5 separate regions of the Homo sapiens genome follow, and regions 2, 3, 4 and 5 are each linked to region 1. The links are contacts of gene promoters, found by promoter capture Hi-C in blood cells and fetal thymus (Javierre and others, 2016). All regions are on one chromosome and are shown on one strand. The core of a region is centred on a gene start or on the middle of the fragment in contact, and the rest is flanking DNA. Distances in the headings are between cores, read along the strand shown.

The links. The method cuts DNA at HindIII sites, captures the fragments that hold promoters and counts their contacts. A CHiCAGO score of 5 or more calls a contact.
Region 2: the fragment with the promoter of EIF2B2 here is called in contact with the fragment with the promoter of NPC2 in region 1 in 3 of 17 cell types (fetal thymus, total CD8 T cells and naive CD4 T cells); the score reaches 7.5 in fetal thymus.
Region 3: the fragment with the promoter of PGF here is called in contact with the fragment with the promoter of NPC2 in region 1 in 1 of 17 cell types (monocytes); the score reaches 5.2 in monocytes.
Region 4: the fragment with the promoter of RPS6KL1 here is called in contact with the fragment with the promoter of NPC2 in region 1 in 2 of 17 cell types (fetal thymus and monocytes); the score reaches 5.8 in fetal thymus.
Region 5: a contact is called between the fragment with the promoter of DLST here and the fragment with the promoter of NPC2 in region 1, in 1 of 17 cell types (M2 macrophages). The highest score is 5.3, in M2 macrophages.

What each region holds. Positions count from the first base shown.
Region 1 is chr14:74,491,828-74,494,681 of GRCh38, reverse strand. It overlaps NPC2 (NPC intracellular cholesterol transporter 2), which reads left to right and starts at 1,377. Exons shown (of 5, transcript NM_006432.5): 1 at 1,377-1,489. The coding sequence starts at 1,408. It overlaps ISCA2 (iron-sulfur cluster assembly 2), which reads right to left and starts at 917. Exons shown (of 4, transcript NM_194279.4): 1 at 837-917; 2 at 530-632; 3 at 292-407. The coding sequence starts at 907. RefSeq lists an enhancer at 835-914 and silencers at 1,115-1,394, 1,565-1,624. The HindIII fragment of the contact is 4,485 bases long and covers 1-2,854 here.
Region 2 is chr14:75,001,422-75,004,275 of GRCh38, reverse strand. EIF2B2 (eukaryotic translation initiation factor 2B subunit beta) reads right to left here and starts at 1,355. Exons shown (of 8, transcript NM_014239.4): 1 at 1,123-1,355; 2 at 881-1,001; 3 at 577-725. The coding sequence starts at 1,285. RefSeq lists enhancers at 997-1,677, 1,719-1,808. The HindIII fragment of the contact is 8,033 bases long and covers 1-2,086 here.
Region 3 is chr14:74,954,142-74,956,995 of GRCh38, reverse strand. It overlaps PGF (placental growth factor), which reads left to right and starts at 1,399. Exons shown (of 7, transcript NM_002632.6): 1 at 1,399-1,828. The coding sequence starts at 1,754. RefSeq lists silencers at 1,253-1,352, 1,533-1,602. The HindIII fragment of the contact is 6,970 bases long and covers 1-2,811 here.
Region 4 is chr14:74,921,761-74,924,614 of GRCh38, reverse strand. It overlaps RPS6KL1 (ribosomal protein S6 kinase like 1), which reads left to right and starts at 1,355. Exons shown (of 12, transcript NM_031464.5): 1 at 1,355-1,435; 2 at 2,130-2,637. RefSeq lists silencers at 1,130-1,189, 1,280-1,689 and enhancers at 1,060-1,830, 1,831-2,602. The HindIII fragment of the contact is 5,428 bases long and covers 1-2,403 here.
Region 5 is chr14:74,880,565-74,883,418 of GRCh38, reverse strand. DLST (dihydrolipoamide S-succinyltransferase) reads right to left here and starts at 1,503. Exons shown (of 15, transcript NM_001933.5): 1 at 1,403-1,503; 2 at 795-828. The coding sequence starts at 1,465. RefSeq lists silencers at 1,159-1,488, 1,345-1,571. The HindIII fragment of the contact is 10,796 bases long and covers 1-2,854 here.

The DNA.
Region 1 (2,854 bases), core at 128-2,627:
AAAATGATTCAATGGAATAAATACTGGGAAACGTGTAGGGACTTAAGCCTGGAATCTAGTCCGGCCTGACTTTCTACCGACTACCCAATGGACCTGGGCAGATCAATTTTGCTCCTATAACTTAGTTACTTTGATTCAGAACAACAAACCTTTACTGCATCCTCACTGTGAGACGGGCGGTGTTAACCATCCCAGGTAAACCCTTTAAATTTGGAATAAAAGTGCACCTTAAACTGGAGACACTTTTGTCCCTCCTGTACCTCCTTTGGGGGCCCACCCCTTCCTCCTTGCCTGTCGTCGGGGTTGATAACTGTATCCAGTGAAAATTTGTATTGGAATCCGGAGCATCCACCTCCCTCCACTTGCAGCCTGAGGAATTCTGACCCTTCGGTGATTTCCAAAAGCCTCTGAAATGCAGGAAGGGGGATCAAGAATAGCGGGAAACGGGAGTTAAAGGGCTGAGTGAAGAGCAGTTCCCGCTGCTCCCGCCAATCGCCTGGGTACCGCCGCTCCGCGTCCGGCCTCCTACCTGGACGCAACTGTCTGTGAGGCGGATCTGCCCTTCGCCGGCCTCGGGGCTGGAGGACGACGCCTCCCGACGCGCCTGGGGTCCCAGGGAGGCCGTGAGGAGCCTGCGCGCAAGGGAGGAGGGTGAGCCCGGGAGCAGAAGGGGCACCTTGCAACCCTCGACCTGGAGCGCCTCACGCTAAACCTGGCGACCCCCACCTGGACGGCCTCCCACCAAACCCTCGCATCCCCCACAGGCCTTAGTTTCCCATTTGTCCTAGAGGCGCAGAACCAAACACCCTTTCCAGGTGCCTTTCTAGTCTTGGTACCTGCCCCTCGGCCAGGGAGTGACCGCTCTCTGCGTCGCGGCCGTTAGGGACGACCCCCAGGCGGCAGCCATCTTCCTCCACAAGCTCCGCCCCTCGCGTCTCCCCCGTTTCTCACCCGGGGCCTCGGGAGGCGGAGAGAACGAACAGGAGGCCGGGACTTCACGGAGGCCCCGCCCCCCCAACATGCCTATTGGGTAGTGCGGGAGGAGAAGGTGTCTGATTGGCTAGGAATGCTCCAGACGGCAGCGGCGGGGACGCACCCAGGAAGCCGGAGAGGTGCTCTAAAGGGAAGGAACGGGGCGGGGAGGAGTGAGGCGGGGCGGGGCGGAGGTGGGTCCGGGCGGGTCAGGCCTCTGAGGGGATGGCATGGGCGGAGACTGCAGGCTTCTGGGCCTGAGAGGGCTGGAGCTGGCTTTCCGGAGCCGGGGGCGGGGCGCGGGCGGGCCTCAGCTGTGGTTACTGGTGACAGGTCGCCTGACTGGGCTCCTCCCCGGGCCCGCCCCGACAGGTTTGTCTTGTGACCGCGGGCGGCCGCTGCTTCTTTCCCGAGCTTGGAACTTCGTTATCCGCGATGCGTTTCCTGGCAGCTACATTCCTGCTCCTGGCGCTCAGCACCGCTGCCCAGGCCGAACCGGTGCAGTTCAAGGACTGCGGTGAGCCCCAGGCCCGCCCAAGGTTCCCGCGCCCTCTGTGGAAGGCCCCGCCGGACCCCCGCGCTGAGACCCCTGGGGCTGGGCTGGGCGGATCCCTCGGGCGGCCAGGCTGAGCCTTGGACCCTACCTAACTGGAATGGGCTGGGTCGGGGGAGAAGGCGCCGGCCTCCATGAAACCCGACCGCGCACAACTTTGTTTCTTTCCTTAGAACGCGTGTTTTGGGGTTCCTGGGAACTCCAGGAGGTGGGCCTTTTGCTGAAGTTTCCTAAAGTTTGTAGGGCGGACAACAGAAGGGCTGTATCCAGCTCTGGTGGAGGGGTGGAGCACAGAACTTCTTTTTATTTATGCTTTGTATCTTGGAATCCCGCCTCCCCCTTCCAACTCCTTTTGCTTTTCTTTTAATTTCGTTTTTGCTGACAAGTCAAAAGTCAATTCCCCTTTTTCATCATTTATTGTTACAAATAGGACTTCCTTTGGGCTTTGGAATCTTGTGATTCTTAATCAGTTTTTCCTTGTATAAATCTCATTGTGTCTCTAATCACAGCTTGTGATACATAACTCCCTCTCGCCGCTGTGGTTGGAATCTTTGTTGGAAAATACAACAGGTGGTAGAAATTCTGAGTGCCTTCATTGAGTCGAGTCTATAGAATTGTCGGAACAGAAACTCGAGCAATGTTGTTCAGAGGTGGAGATAGAGAGATAGAACTGTCAATGAAAGAGGCATGAAACTGACTTTGTAAGATCTATGAGTGGAAAGGAAGCACGGAGATCGTATAATCAATCATTGAATTCCAGGGATGTTGGGTAGCCTACCTAAAGTCACGCAGCAGAATGGGGAGCCAGAGTAAGTGTAACCGCCCAAGGGGTTCACCTTGCGCATTGCCTAGACAGAGCGGATTTATCAAGATGGGATTTGCAGTGGCGAAAAGAGTAATTCACGCAGAGCCGGCTGTGGGGGAGGCCGGAGTTTTATTGTTACTCAGATCAGTCTCCCCGAGCATTCGGGGATCAGAGTTTTTAAGGATAATTTGGCGGGTATGGGCTTGGAAAGTGGGGAGTGCTGATTGGTCAGGTTGAAGATAAAATCATAGGAGAGTCGAAGTGAGTTCTTCTTGCTGACCTCTGGGTGGTGTCATTTGCTGCATCGGAATGCAGGATCTGCAAAATATCTCAAGCACTGACCTTAGGTTTTACAATAGTGATATCATTACCAGGAGCAATTTGGGGAGGTTCAGACTCTTACAGCCAGAGGCGGCGTGGCCCCTAAACTCGTAGCTAATTTGTTAGTCCTACAAAGGCAGACCGGTCCCCAGGCAAGAAGGGGTTTTTCAGGAAAGGGCTATTATCCATTTCGTTTCAGAGTT
Region 2 (2,854 bases), core at 106-2,605, 510 kb before region 1:
CAAGGAATGGCAATCTGGGAAATCCTAAAGTGCTGAGAATAGGGTAAAGAGAGCTTCGGCCTAAAAGAAGTCTTCCTCCAAAAGGTGGCCACAACACTTCTACATGAGAGAGACTGGCCAGAGAAGAAAAAATGGGGGAGCAATTTGGAAGCAGCTTCTTCATCCTCTGATTACAATGAATATCTGCAAGTCACTTGGACCGCAATGACAAGGGGGATAGAAATGGTATACGTGTACGTGTGTATAAAAATTCAGATAGTGAAGGAGGTCTATCGACCTTGGCTCTCTAGGGAGTTCATTTTGTTTCTTTACAATGAAAATAAAACTCTGTCCTAATAGAGTCTGTTCCACTCCACAGATCTGTAGTCTATCAAGGGTTGGTCTGTAAGGAAAAGTAGAGAGGATTACTTTGGTCCTGTCACCTGTTGCAACATTTCCTAATCAGGAAGGAGGACAAACCTCTGAGAACCAGAAGACAGCTAATCTCCCATCTCTGCTAATGAACAACCTTCAGAGGCTTCTGTTCCCTTATGTGCCTGTGACCAGTCCCATTTTCCCAGCGATCAGGCCTCTTACCCAGCTCCACTAGCAGCTCATTAATCGCCTCAATGATGTTGGACTGGAGTTGGGCATAATGGAAGCTGAAATCCTCGTTTAGGCCTCCGGATGTCAACAGTTTGTGCAGGGACTCCTGCTGATCACTCTCGTCGCTGCGTCCATGGAGTCTATAGAGGCAACAAGACCCAAAGAGAGAGGTGGGGAGGAGTGGTCAGGCAGGTAACAAGGGCTGTTCAGCTCCAATAAAGTCTCCGAGCAGGTAGAGGGGCCCGTGCAAAAAGTGTCACTGGATCCAACCAGGAGCCCAGGACGTGAGCCTGACCTGCCATACTCCTCCCGGATAATCTTGAGCACTCTCCGCACCATGTTGCCCACGGTGGTCTCGGAGGGCTGAGCGGCCGTCATCCTCCTGCCCTCTCTGCGGATCAGCTCCATCAGCTCCCCTACAGTCCAAAAGAGAGAGGATAAGAGGAGCCAACGCGAAGTGAGGCCTGGGAAATTTTCAGCCCTGGGATCGGGAACAGACAGGGGCCAGGTTCGCCGGCGGAGGCAGGCCGGCCTCACCCGCGTTGCTCCAGCGGTGGTCCGTGATGATCTGGCGCAGCAACCCTAGGGTCTCCCGAGCCATTTCCTCGGAGCTGCGCGGCCCACCACCCCGCTTCAGGGTCTCCACGAAGCTCTCGATCCTCTCTGACAACTCCGAGCCCTTCGCTGCGGATCCCGGCATCTTTAAGGTAGCTGCCTTCAGCCTTCACCGGCGGAATCCACACCTGCCAGACCACACAGTTTGCACTTCCGGGGCGGGCGAGGTCGGCTTCCGCTGTGAGGGGATGGGGGGAAACCTCAAGTTTGAGTGGAAGCCGGCTACGCCCTTCGTTGCCGATCTCCCGCCCCCTTCCTCTGCCTGAGCCAATCAGAGACGTGGGGCTCGGGTTGTTCAGTTATAACCGGGCGTCCGCGCGCCCCCGCGCCTCGGGGGCTGGAGGATCGGAAGCGGCCTTTCTTGGCTCAGCCGACGGTGAACGGAAGTAACCCGTCAGGCCTGTAGAGGGTGGCTGGTCCCGTTGCTATGGGAGCAGCAAGTCTCTACGCGCCCCTCACCGCGACTTAAGGCTACACTGAAGAAGTTGCGGCACTCCCTCCTGTCTTCCCAGCTCGGTGACTGCCCGAGCTGTCACTCCCGAGTGTCAGCTGACACTGACGCTCTGAATGCATGTCCAGGGTCGGCTGCCCCTTGGGCAGACGTCTCACTTTTGTTCTGTTACATTGCTTGGTACCGTTTGCGCCTGTGTCTAGGAGGTTCATGTCTCTGAAAACAAGGACGATATCTTTTGTTGCTTTTGTATTCTCAAGGCCTAACACGTCTAACAGAAGACGGCGAAATTAGAGATGAGGAAGATTAAGGAGATTCAAAGTGGGAGCCAATACAGAAGCAAAGATGACATCCTCTGATTTGGACAGAATTGTCCTCCTACAGAGAGGCCAGAGAGTATAACATAATACCAAGAGTTACCATTTACTTAAAGCTTACTGGTTCTTGGGCACTGTGTGTGAATTGTCTCAGTTAATAAGGTCTGAAATAGGTCCTCTTATCCCCATTTTACAGATTGGGAAACAGACCCACAGAATTTAAGCAGTTAATAAAGGATTGGGTTCATACTTAAATCCAGGTCTACCTGAACCCAAAGTATGTGTGTAATAGAAATCTCTATTTCCTTAAGATAAATTCTTCAAAGTGGAATCCATAGGCGAGCACATTTTAGACTTTTGTTACAATTAACAAATTGCCCTCCAAAAAGATTATGTCAATACCAAAGTTAGCCAAAGGTAGTACAAAGAAAAGAAAATTACAGATTAATATCTCTCATGAACATAGAAGCAAAAATTGCAACAAATTATTAGCACATCAAATCCTGCAATACATAAAAAAAGAATAATATGTAATTACAAAGTGAAACATAAACCTGGAATGCAAAGCTGATTAAACACTTAAAAATCAATGTAATATGCCATATTAACAATCTGAGAAGTAAAACCACATGATCATGTCAATTGATGCAGGAAGAAACATTTGACAAAATTCAATATTCATGGTACAAACTCTCAGAAAACTAGAACAAAAGGGAACTTCCTGAACTCGATAAAGGGTATCTACAAAATCCTACACCTAAAAATCATACTTCACAGTAAAAGATTGCTTTCTCCCTAAGATCAGGACAAGGCAAGGATGTCTACTTTCACCACTCCTATTTAAATTATACGTGAAGTCCTAGCCCTTGCAATAAGGCAAGAAAAA
Region 3 (2,854 bases), core at 150-2,649, 460 kb before region 1:
AGGCTGCATCTCTGGCAGCCCCTCGTGGGTGGGCAGGCAGGCAGGCAGTGGACGCAGAGGTCACTGGGGTGAGAGCTGGGGCTGCCCTGGCCTCCCTGCTCTTGGCTGGAATGTGAGCTGTAGGGGCCACTTCCCAGGCCTCGCTCCTCCCCCACAGCCACCCACCAGCCCCAGGCCCAGCCAACTCGTGACTCCCAGTCCTGCCAGGTTCCTGCAGCCTGGGAGCTGGACACAGAAGGCAGTGAGAGGAGTGGTGGTAAAGAAAGATCCAGAACCAAGGGAGGGCACACACAAACGCAGAGAGAGAGGCACAGTCTTCACCCACAGAGACAGACACACACACGCAGAGACAGGCAGGCGTGCAGACTCACAGTCCCACCGAAAGATACACATTCAGACACTTCCAAACACACCCAGATACACAGCGGACACGAACAGATCACACAAGCATACAGAGATACAGAGAGACCTGACCCCCACACAGAGGCGTATTTGGAGGTACAGTAGTCACACGTACTCAGACCACACAGAGGCTCAGATGCACCGCTCATGGATATTCACAGACCCGCAAATGCCCATGCACACGCGCAGATGCACACAGACCCCCGCGCAGCGTACAGTTCCTCCTCGGCCAGGGACCAGGAGGAGATGCCTGAGTGAGACCACTCTCTACCACAGGGGGCTGCCCCGCAGGGAGGGCCTGGGAAGACTGCTTCCCAAGGAGGCAACAGGCCTGATCCTCCAGCCAGGTGCCCTGAGAGGTTTCCTGTGGGAGGCCCACTGTGTCCGTGCCTGGCTAGGAGGGTGGTAGGTCGGGTTAGAGTTCTGGAGTCACGTAGGCTTGGGTTTTGTCTCTGCCAGTTCCTCGGACACACAGATGCGCGCACACACACAACACACACACACTTTCCAAGAATGCCTATGTCCATTCGACATATGCAGGCAGGGGTGCTCTCGGAGCCTCGGTTTCTTCATCTATATAACCTGGCTAGGAATCCCTTGGCCCCCTAGGGGTGTGGGCATGGCTGCCTTCCCAGGCATCCCGGACGGCCCTTCCTGCAGAGGCGGTTAGATCATGAGCCTTGACGGCTGACGCTGGACTCCTGGATGCCCCCATCCCAGGTGACCGCCCTGAGAGCCGAAGCAGGGCTGTGGGCCCTGTGGGCGGGCGCGGCGCGGCCCGGGGAGCTGCGGGCTGGGCTCGGCGAGGCGTCTGGACCTGCCGAGAGCCCCTCGCACGCACTGCGGGCTCCGGCGCTGCGGGCTGGCCGGGCGCTGCGGGCTGACCGGGCGCTCCGGGAACTCGGCTCGGGAACCTCGTCTGCGGTGGGCGGGGCCGGCCCGGAGCCCCGCCCCGGCTCAGTCCCTGAAACCCAGGCGCGGACCGGCTGCAGTCTCAGAAGGGAGCTGCTGTCTGCGGAGGAAACTGCATCGACGGACGGCCGCCCAGCTACGGGAGGACCTGGAGTGGCACTGGGCGCCCGACGGACCATCCCCGGGACCCGCCTGCCCCTCGGCGCCCCGCCCCGCCGGGCCGCTCCCCGTCGGGTTCCCCAGCCACAGCCTTACCTACGGGCTCCTGACTCCGCAAGGCTTCCAGAAGATGCTCGAACCACCGGCCGGGGCCTCGGGGCAGCAGTGAGGGAGGCGTCCAGCCCCCCACTCAGCTCTTCTCCTCCTGTGCCAGGGGCTCCCCGGGGGATGAGCATGGTGGTTTTCCCTCGGAGCCCCCTGGCTCGGGACGTCTGAGAAGATGCCGGTCATGAGGCTGTTCCCTTGCTTCCTGCAGCTCCTGGCCGGGCTGGCGCTGCCTGCTGTGCCCCCCCAGGTAAGAGCTACCCCCACCTAGCCTGGCTCCCCAGACCTCCCCATCCCAGCACTGGAAGCATGGGACTCTGAAATCACAGACCCACTCCAGGGAGCAGCAACTCCAAGGATGTCCACACACTTCCTAAAGGCCAGGCTGGACTTCTTTCGTTTGGGAAGAGACCTCAGGCTGGCTGTCCCCCAGGTCCTGGGGGCTGTCTTGGTGGGGGCAGGGAAGCCACAGGGAGGGAGGGAGGGAGGGAGGTTTCCTGTCTGGCCCCTGGAGCCCTGGTGGCTTTGCTAAAAGCATCTGTCCACTAATCCCAGGCGGGTCCCTGGCCTTGTGGTCAGGGTCGAGGCCCCATGGCCAACCAGGCGTCCCCAGGACCTCTGACCTGGCCTGGTGGGGGTGGCGGAGGAGCCAGCTGAAGAAGCTGTTGGTGGGGAGGCTGGCCCTGCCCCCACCAGGGCTCAGGACTGAGCCGTGGGCTCCTGGGTGGGCTGGGGACGAGACAAGGGGTCTCGCTGTGCCTTTTCTCCTGGGTGGGTGGCCGGAGGTCCTGAGTGCAGGGCCTGGGGAAGTGAGCAGGGCCCTTTTCCCAGGAGCCGGGTGAGTCTGGCTGGGAGCCAGCTTGGGCAGTGAAATCCTGACAAAGCCAATGAACTGCCTTCCCACTGCGTTGTCCCACTGCCCTGGGAGTCCCCAGCCCCAGCCCAAGAGTAGGAGTGGGCTGGGCAGTCCCTGAGGAGTCCGAGCAGCCCAGCCACCCGCCTGCCTGCTGCAGGGCTGGCCAGAGGTGTAACGTTACCGGCTGCACCAGCTCATGGCGCCACCCGCTCCAGCCCCTCAGCTCCCACCAGCTGATCACCTCCCCCTGGGCTCTGGCACCCAGCCAAGGCGGGCTGTGCAGGGCCCAGCAGGGTTGGCCTGGGGGCTGGGTAGAAGGCAGACCCGCAGGATTGGAAGATCTTTGGGATGCAGCAGGCCAAGGGTCTCCAAAAGCTTCTAGCCTCCCATCCTTTTCCAAATGAGGAAAACTGAGGCCAG
Region 4 (2,854 bases), core at 106-2,605, 430 kb before region 1:
TTTGAGACCAGCCTGGGCAATATGGTGAAACCCCATCTCTACTAAAAAAAAAAAAAAAAAAAAAAAAAAAAAGGAAATTAGCCGTACTGCAAACCTAGGGTGGTAGGTAAAGAAGTGAGGCCTAGAGTGTATTTTGGTTTGTTTTCTTGTTTTGCTTTTAAGAGGGGAGAAACAAGCATTATGTTTGTATCAGGTGGGAATTATCTAGTGGGAGAGACGGGAGAATCGCTGGAGTGGTGTCGCTGAGTAGGTGATGGCACGGGACTGATGCCCACCTGGAAGGGTGGCCTTCGATGGGGCACAGACAGTCACCTGTGGAAAAAGGTTGGAAGCAGAGTGTGGGCACAGCCCCGCCCGCGGGCCAAGAGCAAGCCTGTGGGAGTCTGTGCGCCACTGCTGTCAAGGGAAGGATGAAGCAACAGTGCTGGCTGAGAGTGAGGATAGGGGGACGGGTGGGAGTCAGAGGGAGAAAGTATGAAAGGGTGTCTAAGGTAGAGCAAGTGCAGCCGGGGGACAGTGTGAAGCCAGTCAGCACTGAACCTGCAGGTGAGATCTGTGTCACAGGGTTGCCTGTGATCTGTTGCCCCATCACCCAGGCTGGAGTGCAGTGACACGATCTCGGCTCGCTGCAGCCTCAACCTCCCGAGCTCACTCCATCCTCCCACCTCAGCCTCCTGAGTAACTGGGACCACAGGCACACGCCACCATGCCCAGCTAAATTTTGTAATTTTTATAGAGATTGGGTCTACCTATGTTGCCCAGGCTGGTCTTGAACTCCTAGGTTCAAATGATCCTCCCGCCTCAGCCTTCCATAATGCAGAGATTACAGGCATGAGCCACCGCACCCGGCCTATGTCTTGAATTTTAAGCTCGGTTCTGATATCAAAAGCCTTCTATTGCTGGGTTCTTTACTCTCGGTAGCCCTCACTAGACTGTAAGCCCCATGCGGATGTAAACAGCGCTGTCTAGTTCACGGCTGTATCTCAACATCCAGCTCCTCATGCATGGGAGACTCTCAATACATAGCATTGAATCGTTGAATAAATGAATGAAGCAATGAATGAGAAAAGTCCTAGAAGTGGCACGTCTAGATTTCTGAAGCAGCCCCTTCCGCATCCCTGGATGATTCTAGACCTGCTCTCCCCACCCACCCCACATCCCATCCCACCCTCCCCTCTCTAAACCGCCCCCCGCCCCTCACAGCCCAGCCGTGCAGACCTTGCGGCTTTAAGGCCGGCAGGAGCCGAGCCGGGCGGTGATTGGTGGTTTATTCTAAGGCTCAAGTATGAGCTCATCCGCAGCCAATGGCCGCGCTGCACCGGCTGGCCCCGCACGCTGGATGCCGGAAAGCAGCGGCCCGCGGCGCGCTCTGGCGTGAAGGGCCGGTACGTGAGGGGGAGGCCTGGCCCGCGGACCCGGCTCCCAGCTCGGGCAGGTACGGTGTTTTGTCCGGTCCCTTCTCCACCCTCCCAGGCGAGGGGCCCCCTCGGCCGTCCCTCCACCCTGGGACCGTGCACCTTGCGGCTGGGGCCCCGTGGGTTGCACGCGCCGCTTTCTGTGTCCAGGCGGGGCCGGCGGCTCTGCCCGGCAGGACCCTGCCCGGCGGGGTGGACCCTGAAGCCAGTCCTACCCGGGCACCCCCCAGAGCAAGGCCTCAGAGCCTCAAGTTCCCCTGGGCTTGGCCGAGCAGGGATGGTGCGGCCTCCCTCTGCCTCCTGGCCGCATCCTGGCCGGGATTCAGCTCCCCGCCGGCTGAGGCTGTGGGTCTCCCTCCCCGCCCCACCGCCCATCCTGCTCTCTCCTCTTTCTCTCCAAATGACCTGGGGTTGGAAGTTCCGGGTCCTGCCCATTCCCAGTGGGACCTGGGAGAGCAAAGGCGGGGTAGCTTTGTGGGCCTCTCTCTGAGCCCCTTCCCTTCCCGCAGCCACGGCTGTCATCCCTTTGGCCGCCTGGGTCACACATTGCTCAGGAAGAAGCTGCTGTCAGGTCCTTGGAGGCCACATGACCTTCTCAAAAGTAAAGCCAGGAGGACAGAGCGACCCTCCCTGGGGCTGGGTCACCCTGCCCTCTTCTACCCCCCATCCAACGTGGCACCGAGTCTGCCACTCAGTCATTCCGTCTGCCAACAGTTCTTACAGCCCAGCTCTGTGCTCTGCTCTCTGCTGGCTCCAGGAGGGGTCCTCACTCGCTGACCACACTGACCTCAGGACCAAGGGAACAAAACACAGCAGGGGCAATCCATCCGGTCCACGGAGAAGTGCTAAACCCCAAAGGGTAAATGAGATTCCCACAGGAGGAGCAGGGAGGAGACAACAGGCAGGGTGGAGGGAACAGCATGAGGAACAGCATTTGAGCCCAGCGTGTGTGGCCTCCATGTGCTGAATGCGTACTGGATACCAAGCTTGCTCTACGGAGGCCCTGTGAAGGTGGCTGTGGATCACAGATATCCTCAGCTCTCTCCAGAGCTCAACACAGTACCAGATGCTCCAGAAATGTTTGCTGAACTGAATTTGACTGGAAAGGAAAACAGAGCCCCAGGCCTGCGCGGTGGCTCACGTCTATAATCCCAGCACTGTGGGAGGCCGAGGCAGACGGATCACTTGAGGTCAGGAGTTCAAGACCAGCCTGGCCAACATGGTAAAACCCCGTCTCTACTACAAATACAAAACATAGCCAGGTGTGGTAGGCAAGTGCCTGTAATCCCAGCTACTTGGGATGCTGAGGCAGGAGAATTGCTTGAACCTGGGAAGTGGAGGTTGCAGTGAGCCGAGATCGCACCACTGCAATCCAGCCTGGGTGACATAGCGAGACTCTGACTCAAAAAAAAAAAAAAAAAAGAAAAGAAAACAGAATC
Region 5 (2,854 bases), core at 254-2,753, 390 kb before region 1:
TTAAGTTCTGCCAACCTCTTTTCTTCCTCAGGGTCTTTGTGAATGCCATTCTCTTTCTCCTGGGCTTCACTGGGTTAGCTCCGTCACATTCTGCTAGCCATAACTTTTTTTTTTTTTTTTTTTTGAGATGGAGTCTCGCTCTGTCGCCCAGGCTGGAGTGCAGTGGCGCGAACTCGGCTCACTGCAAGCTCCGCCTCCCGGCTTCACGCCATTCTCGTGCCTCAGCCTCCCGAGGAGCTGGGACTACAGGCGCCTGCCACCACGCCCGGCTAATTTTTTGTATTTTTTAGTAGAGATGGGGTTTCACCGTGTTAACCAGGATGGTCTCGATCTCCTGACCTCGTGATCCGCCCGCCTCAGCCTCCCAGAGTGCTGGGATTACAGGCGTCAGCCACCGCGCCCGGCCATGGCCATAACTTTTAAGTCACCTCCTCAAAAAGGGCTCTTCTGTCCACCCTCGTTTCCTTCTCAGCAGTTACAAAAATTTGCCTTTGTTGGCTTGTTTAGCAACTGACACTATCCAACTAGCCTAGGAGCTCCACGAGGGCAAGAACTGTACACTTCTGTATCCACTCCTGTATCCCTAGCGTCTAGCACAGTGCCTAACACAGTAGAAACTCAACTACGAGCTAAATGAATAAGCGATAGCTCGTGATTATGTAGCATTGCGTCTCACTACTCTCTGAACCAAACTGTCTTTAAATATTATGAGAAACACAGGCACCCCCGAGTTCCTCACATACTGCTCTGCCCAGGAGGAGAGCATTTTAGGTGACGGTAAGGGCAGAACTTACCAGGCAGGGAACGTCTCCCTAGAGGGCAGTTCCCCTGTTGAGAAAGAAGACATTATCGACGTCACCCAAGATGAAAAAAAAACCCAGCTTTTTCTTTTAAGTACACGCTCAAAGCTGTCCCAGTGGTGGTGACAGGTGAATCTCGTAACTCCGAAGGTAAATGCAACACACCGTGCTGGCAGACCCAATCAACACGCTGGGCCTGCCAAACTATCTCAACTTCCCAACGGGACTCATTAATACCCACTGATTTTAACAGAGCAAGACGAGACGGGCGCCGAATCCCGCCGGAGGACTCCGCCGCGCCTCCTCCCTAACTCTGAGTCAAGTATCTGGACGGGCGCGGCTCCCCAGCTCCCGCGCGGAGGGTGGGGTACAGCAGGAAACGTTCCCCGCAGGCTGCCTGGAGAAGGCAGGGGGCCGCTGGGCTCCGCAAAACGGTCCCGAGGGCAACCACGGCCCCGGGCCGCCCAGCCCGCGCGGCCTCCGCGTCCCAGTGCCCTTGGTGCCCGGCCCGGCCGGCGCGCCGCGCCCCTGCCTTCCAGGCCGCCTCTCTGCCCGCCAACAGACTCCTCACCCGTCGGGGCCCCGGCTCGGCCAGACCGTACCTTCTGGAAGGCGGAGAGCGAGCGGCTGAACGCCCGAGACACACAGCGGGATCGGGACAGCATCACGGCGGAGGAGCCGAGGGCGGGCGGACACCGGATATAGGGCCGGACAACAACCGGAAGTGGGGCGGGCCGCAGTACCCGCCGCCCGACGAGGGGTGTTCGGAGCGAACCACTGGCAGGGGGTGGGCGCACGGCGGCGCCCAGTATCCCGGCTGCAGCGCAGGAGTCCCGCTCTCTGGAGCAGGCAACCCTAAGGCGCTCTTGGGGCCCTCCGCACTGCCTGTCAGCCTGAGGTGGTTCTCCTGAAGGTGTATACGACTGTCCCGCCACCACATTGCCCCCGGGGTCAGGCCTTCCCCTACCCTTCCACAGAACTGGCTCTGAGCTTGGCGCCCTTCTCTCTTGGGACCCGAGGGCACCGCGCCGTTCCGCCTCTGTACCTTGGGAAGAGAGCAAAAGAGGGGCACGGACATTGAACTGAAACCTTGGCAGACATGCATGCCTGATCTTACACTTGTGTGGCCTGGGGCAGATGACATTGCCCCCCACCCCCAGTCTCAGGTCCCTTAACTATTAAAAAAAAAAAAAAAGGCACTTGTTACTTCCCTGTCTTCCTAACCCCGAGTCAAAGAAACAGAATCCCAGGAATTTCTAAATCCCATTGCCTTTTTACGAGTCGGATATCTTCACCAACTATAGCCTTATTTCTCAACAGCTTCTGATCTCCCCCCAACGCAAATTCCAGCCAAACTAATTGTTCCCCATACATCTTGTGCATTTTGGAAGTTGTTCGTTTGTCACCCTATCCCTAGAATATAAACTCCCAGCTGTTTTTTTAAGAAACAAGGTCATAGTTCACTGGAGCCTCGACACTCTGGGCTCAAGCGATCCCTCTGCCTCAGCCTCTGGAGTAGCTGGGACTACAGGTGCCACCATGCCAGGCTGACCTCCCCACTTTGAGTGTGCCATTCTTCCCGCTGACTTGAAGTGAAAGCATATAGCATCCCCTTCCCCTCCTTAAGTATTCAGGCCCCTTGAGTATTCACCTTTAAGGCTCACCTTCCTAATGAAAAAGATGTGCTTTAAACCTCTGGCTGAATTAGTAACACATAAATGTATGAATGAATGAATGAACCACTTGGTGCCGTTCATGATGATTTCTTTATCTGAGGCATTTTGCCTGGCCCTCAGGACCTTTATTTTTTATTTTTCTAATTAATTTATGTTTTAATATAAATTGAGACGGGGTCTCACTATGTTGCCCAGGCTGGCCTCAAATTCCATCAGGACCTTTACAGTGCCTTCACTCACCTGAACCCTGAAAGCACTGCCACTGAAATTCTGGAAGGATGGGCCAAAGTCCTAACTAGAAATAGAGAAAACAGCTCTGCCCTGCTGCTACCCACAATTAACTCCTCAGTAGCTTTCACCTGAATTATTTGAAAAGCT